Regions from separate parts of the Homo sapiens genome. Here region 2 is linked to region 1. The links are contacts of gene promoters, found by promoter capture Hi-C in blood cells and fetal thymus (Javierre and others, 2016). All regions are on one chromosome and are shown on one strand. Each heading gives the region's core, a stretch centred on a gene start or on the middle of the fragment in contact. The rest is flanking DNA. Distances are from core to core; before and after follow the strand shown. Region 1 holds the start of RPS20 (ribosomal protein S20). Region 2 holds the start of XKR4-AS1 (XKR4 antisense RNA 1).

Evidence for each region. Contacts are between HindIII fragments. The CHiCAGO score rates a contact against its expected background, and 5 or more counts as called.
Region 2: the fragment with the promoter of XKR4-AS1 here is called in contact with the fragment with the promoter of RPS20 in region 1 in 1 of 17 cell types (erythroblasts); the score reaches 7.1 in erythroblasts.

The regions. Positions count from the first base shown.
Region 1 is chr8:56,072,920-56,076,146 of GRCh38, reverse strand. It overlaps RPS20 (ribosomal protein S20), which reads left to right and starts at 1,641. Exons shown (of 4, transcript NM_001023.4): 1 at 1,641-1,766; 2 at 1,988-2,087; 3 at 2,379-2,452; 4 at 2,875-3,093. The coding sequence starts at 1,764. The coding sequence ends at 3,057. It overlaps SNORD54 (small nucleolar RNA, C/D box 54), which reads left to right and starts at 2,246; the gene lies at 2,246-2,308. It overlaps CERNA3 (competing endogenous lncRNA 3 for miR-645), which reads right to left and starts at 1,555. Exons shown (of 2, transcript NR_149110.1): 1 at 1,267-1,555; 2 at 873-1,140. The HindIII fragment of the contact is 15,741 bases long and covers 1-1,913 here.
Region 2 is chr8:55,519,190-55,522,416 of GRCh38, reverse strand. XKR4-AS1 (XKR4 antisense RNA 1) reads left to right here and starts at 1,439. Exons shown (of 2, transcript NR_134323.1): 1 at 1,439-1,482. The region is part of intron 2 of XKR4 (XK related 4); the gene reads right to left. RefSeq lists an enhancer at 1,331-1,420. The HindIII fragment of the contact is 12,203 bases long and covers 1-3,227 here.

The DNA.
Region 1 (3,227 bases), core at 392-2,891:
GGAGGTTGCGGGGAGCCAAAATCGTGCCACTGCATCCAGCCTCGGCGACAGAGCGAGACTCCATCTCAAAAAACAAACAAACAAAAAACCCAAAAAACTGAACTGGAAAACATCCAAATTTGAAAATTTAAAATAATTGTTAAAATGGCAGCAAAAAACCTCATACGTATCGTGAGCCAAAGAAACCCAGTTATTAGTTATGTTCCAATTATCACCAAATAAGACAATGCTATTATTTGATTAAAGTTTCAAACATAATTTCCTACCAAGGAACAGAAGACAAAACCTCAAGAAAGAGTCCTGACGGGGCGAGCGCGGTGGCTCACGCCTGTAATCCCAGCACTTTGGGAGGCCGAGGCGGGCCTGAGATCTGGAGTTTGAGACCAGCATGATCAACATGGAGAAACCCCGTCTCTACTAAAAAAAAAAAAAAAAAAAAAAAAATTAGCCGGGCATGGTGGCGCATGCCTGTAATCCCAGCTACTCCGGAGGCTGAGGCAGGAGAATCGCTTGAACCCAGGAGGCGGAGTTTGCGGTGAGCCGAGATCGCGCCATGGCACTCCAGCCTGGGCAACAAGAATGAAACTCCGTCTCACAAAAAAAAAAAAACAAAACAAACAAAAAAAAAAAACAACAAACAGGCCTGGACGGAGGGGTCAGAGCTCTGTCCCTCCCCATTTCAGAGTGTTTGAGCAAATAACTCTTTCGGCTCAGAGCTTCAGGTGGAAAGTAATATGAGATGATTTTACTCTTCTTTCTGCCCTGTATCAAAATCCATCTCAGTGATTTCCACGTATTTAGCCCCGGCTTCTTGCTCAGGTGTAGGTGAGCTCACCCTGCGCTCTCTCCCACTGCTCAGCTCAGTTGACCATTCGGGTTTTCCACTATACTTGGTCACTTATGTGATTATGAACAGATGTTCAGTATTAAGAAGACCCTGGGGGATCTTATCCAATGACTTTATCCAACAGAAAGGAGATGAGGTATCAGGACTGGGTGGCTAGCCAGGTTCCAGGCCGGGCCTCAGGATAGCTGCGCAGCCTGGCATTTTCGCCTCACTTTCCAGAAGGACGAGAAGCCAAGTTCAGGTCCTTTCCAGAAATAGATGTAGATACTTCTGCTGGACTGGGAAGCCAGGAGCTGAAATATCACAACAGGACGTTTCAGGCTATGAAAAATAACTGCTTACTAATTCTAACGTAAGTTATCCAGATTACGAGAAGCATTTCTGCCAATGCTCATGTCAGCTAAGCTCAGAGAAGTTACCTCATCCTCAGAGAGCAACGAATGGTATGGTCTATGTAGAAAGCAAAATTTGCAACGGAAAAACCAGAGTTCGTGTGCACTTTATGAGGAAGAGGGTTAGGTGCACCAGACAGAGGAGTTTCTCAGGTTTCCGTGTCGCCTGTTCTCTCGACCAGGTGGCCCTCTCGGCGCAGGCGGGGACCCCACCCTGCGGGACTTCGGCTCCTCCGTGCGGACAGGGGGCGCCCGCAGCCGTGCCTTTCCCGCCAACTCCACTAGTGCTCCAGCTCGCCCTTGTGCGACCGCCTCTAGGGCCCGGGATATTTCCTGTTCCGGGGCGTGTGGGACCCGGATGCAAGCGTGCTATATAAGCGTTGCTCAAGTCCCACCCCTTTCTTTTTGAGGAAGACGCGGTCGTAAGGGCTGAGGATTTTTGGTCCGCACGCTCCTGCTCCTGACTCACCGCTGTTCGCTCTCGCCGAGGAACAAGTCGGTCAGGAAGCCCGCGCGCAACAGCCATGGTGAGGCGGCAGTCGGCGGCGGGCGGCGCAACGCAGGGCTCGGGCGCCGGGGGGACCCCGGTTTCGAGTTCGTGCTCCTGAGGGCAGATGCCGGGGCGTGTAGGGGCGGAAAGGCGCTCCTGAAATGGTGGGGAAACGCGGGAAGCTTCCGGAAGCTGCCTTTCTCCAGAAGTGGCAGACCATTTTTGGCTTATTGTTCTTTTTCATGTATCTAATAATAGGCTTTTAAGGATACCGGAAAAACACCCGTGGAGCCGGAGGTGGCAATTCACCGAATTCGAATCACCCTAACAAGCCGCAACGTAAAATCCTTGGAAAAGGGTCAGTGCATTCGTTATGCGGGGGGGAGGGGGAATTGGGCGAAAAGCGACGAGCTTTACTCGTTAATGTTAGTGTAGAAGGTGGACTGCAAGAACTAAAGTGACAAGTTACTTAAAAAAGTAAAGCGTGGCTTAAAATTGCTTTTACTGTCATACAGCTGGCGATGAGGAGGTACCTATTGTGTTGAGTAACGGTGATAATTTTATACGCTATTCTGAGCCAGCAGAAGTGAAGGCCTTAAGCCGATTTTAATTGTTTCGATTATACTGAGAGGTCTTTTATTTCCTGTAGTGTGTGCTGACTTGATAAGAGGCGCAAAAGAAAAGAATCTCAAAGTGAAAGGACCAGTTCGAATGCCTACCAAGGTAAAGTAAATCGGAGGGGCAGGAAGTAGGAGTTGCTTCCGGATGTTGCATAAATTCAGGTTCTTTAAGGAGTTCGGCTGCCAAAATTGTTAACACTGATGCTGTCTACAAACGCACATAGAAATCGGTGGTAGATTGCGGTTCCTAGTAAGTAGCTAATGTTTAGATATGATTGTTGAATTATTGTTGCTGTGTTCTTGGTGTGCTTTGGTGCTTAACAGGCGCAAGCTCTAAGGGTGGTGTCCTAGCACAGTGAAAACAGACCTGGCATTTTCAACCCATGGTACCTGAAAATCTATTAGTGTAAATTGGAATCATACCAAAGGGAAACTAATGAAATGATTAGAAGTAATGATTTTCCAGATGTTCTAGGGATAAGTATAAAACGATAAACACTTGGTTTCCTTTGTCTTTTGTTACAGACTTTGAGAATCACTACAAGAAAAACTCCTTGTGGTGAAGGTTCTAAGACGTGGGATCGTTTCCAGATGAGAATTCACAAGCGACTCATTGACTTGCACAGTCCTTCTGAGATTGTTAAGCAGATTACTTCCATCAGTATTGAGCCAGGAGTTGAGGTGGAAGTCACCATTGCAGATGCTTAAGTCAACTATTTTAATAAATTGATGACCAGTTGTTAACTTCTGTTGGTTTTTATTCAGAATACTGGCAGATTTTAGGAATATAAAGGTGTACTATGAGACTTCCACTTTTCAGGTGGAATATATGGGTATCTTAGAGTGGTCTATCCTGTTTTCGTTGTCGTTTGAGTCAT
Region 2 (3,227 bases), core at 190-2,689, 550 kb after region 1:
TCTGGCACTCTTCCTACAGCCTTTATCTGTTCCTTATTGCCTTTCCCACAAAAGAAGACATGTCCGTTCCCTGTCTTCCATCTCTTAGCTCTTCATAGATTAAAGATTGTGCTGAAATTATTTTTCAATCACTCCTCTTATTTTATCATTTTATTGGTCCCATTTGGTTGGTATTCCCTCTAAAAGTAGGCTTCCAAATGTTAAAAGTCATTTGTATTGTTTTCCTCTACTCTTGTTCCACCTCCTGTATGGCACAGTTCATCTCTATCGTCCAGATGTGGCCAGGGCTCACCTAAAAACACACTGGCCTCCTTTAGGAGAGAGCTCTTATGGGAAATTCCTCTGTCACAGAAATGGTATGCCAATCTGCATCGCAGCTGGCTTCCCTAATGAGCTGAACCAAGACTCACCAAGACTAAGAATGGTCTCATCTATTTTAAAGTCTGGCTGGCTTTTTCTTCACCAAATCTATTATTAATCATAACCAGGCCCCATTAAAGCCTTTCTCTTCTTTTGGATATAATAGAAGATATGTTGATTGCCAAGATCTTATAATGGAAATGGTACTTTTTATTCAAAAATATTTTTATAGGGAAGAGCTGTTGTCTATGATCCTTGAAAAATGAAAAGAAAGTACTCTTGTGGAAAAAGACCACACTAATTGACAGGAAATACATTCAACCCCAATAATTATTTCTGATACATCCTCGTTGAGTAAGGTGAACTCCAAAGAACAATTATTGATAAGGAAAATATTTTCTAAGAGCCATTTCTCATATTTCCTCCCAATAAAGCCAGCAGAACAACTAGACATGCTACACTGGGACCTTCAGGTTTTTCTTTTCTTTTCTTTTTCTGGCTAGCACAAAAATCTTTAATTGCTGTAAGTCACAGGCAGCTGTGGTGCTATTTATAGGTCAGAGACCAGTATACAAAGGAGTTTCTGATAATTTAATTTCTAAGCAACAGAAAACATCGACATCAATTATAAAACAAATTCTGGAGTGAAAGAGGGGGAAGGAGAAAAAGTTTAAAAAATGACAAAAGAAGGTGAGAGAAATGCGAAATAAAAGGTAATGGGATAATGACTATGCGAACATCTTTATTATCACTTGGGGATTTAAGAACAAAAGATTGTGCCTTTTTTAATTTCGACGCTTTTGTAGGGCATAGAAGCCGCTCATATCTCTCTTCTTATGTGTACCACTTGCAAACGTGTAGCTTCTCACTAGACTATGCTCCCTTTGTGCTTTTAAACGCGGCGCCCAGCTGGGTTTCTGCCCGGGAACGCCCCTCCCCTTCCTTCACGCCGGCCTCCTTCAGCACAGCTGGGGCACAGCGCCGCCTTCAGGAAGATAACTGCACCGCCGGTCAGGCTCGCGCCAACCAAAGCGGGGTTGTTAACGGGGTGGTCAGAATGGTTCTACCAGTTTGCACAGGAAGACGTTACTTAAGGCTGCTTTCCAAAGCAGTGAAAAAATAGTAAGAAAACTTTAAGTACACAGTATCATGAAATGATGATATGATCTGTTGTCAGATTTAAAAGAATAGAAACATTAGCCTCCTTCAAATTACCCTGTAATCTCTACCCCTTTTATTGCGTGTCCTAAAAGAGTAATTCAGCCTGCGTTTGACACTCCAGGAACTTGTTAAGATGATACTGTAGCCGTAGAAAAATGAAGGCTTTCTATCAGCTTTGCTCTCTCTATATCTTACAATTTAAAAAATCTATACCAAAGGGAAATTTCATGTCCCTGTGATACCCTCTTTATGAATTCTCTGCTTTAGCAATGAGAATTTCTCTTCTTCCTTTGTTGATGATGATGATGATGATTTTTTGAGACAGAGTCTCACTCTGGCTGGAGTGCAGTGGCACGATCTCAGCTTACTGTAGCCGTCACCTCCTGGGTTCAACCCATCCTCATGCCCCAGCCTCCTGAGTAGCTGGGACCATAGGCATGTGCCACCACGCCTGGCTAAGTTTTGTATTTTTAGTAGAGAGGGGGTTTCACCATGTTGGTCAGGCTGGTCTCGAACTCCTTGCTTCAAGTGATCCTCCTGCCTTGGCCTCCCAAAGTGCTAGGATTTTAGGCGTGAGCCACCGTGCTGGGGCTTCCTTTGATTATTATTTACTTTTTCTTCTGTTTAACAATTGATTTTTATAAGACAAATATATGCTGAACAGAAAATATGGGGTCATATACAAGTTAAGACCCTTACAACTTCACAAATTCACAACTGCCACAGAACACTTAGTTCTTTTGCTCTTTATACAAATAATACGAGCTCAGTTTTTTCCAATGCCAAGACAGACTTCCTCAGCAAGGCATGGCCTTATTCTTAGAGTTCTCTGGAGCTTCTGATATGCAGTGGCACAGTGCTGGAACACAGGACTCTGAGCACTCCTTTAGCTATTAATGTGTATTTTAAGTTGTTATTTGAAAATAATTTCAAACTTACAGAAAAATTATAAGACTAGAAATATTATATTGAACATCTATATTTCATTTGCCCTAATTGTCAACTGACTTTATCATTGCCCTCTCTCTGTCTCTGTCTCTCTCTCTCACCCATTTGCGATTAAATGCATACATTATGGTCCTTTATCCTAAAATATGCCAGTGTTTATTTCCTATGAATAGGGGCATTCTCTTACATAACCACATAAAGTTATCAACTTCAATCAATTTAACATTGACACAGTACTTTAAAAAAATCCACTATCAGTATTCTAGTTTCACCAATTGACATTAACAATGTCCATTCCAAAATTTTTCTCCCCTATACAGGATCAAGTCTAGAATCAGGTACTACATTTGGCTGTTGTATTAATTCAGTTTTCTTTAATCTGGATTATTTCCAAATACTTTCTTTGACTTTATGACACTGACATTGTTTGAAGAGTATAGTACTTGAAAATAAGAAAAAAAGAAAAAAAAAGGTGTTCCTAATTTTGGGTTTACCTGCTGCTTCTTCATGGTTACATTGCTAGGCAGGAATATATAAGTGACATTGAACAATGTATTTTTTCAGGATCATCATACTAAAATATGACGATTCCTTCAGTGGCCCCAGGAAAAAATATATAATGGGTCTGTCAGTCTTTTCTTTCAAAATAATGAATAGTATATCACTCATGAAAACTTGCTTCTAAGATCAAGCTATAAAAACAGCTACAGGGGACTAAAAGGGATTATATATTATCTCTTAAAATGTGAAAATAGGTG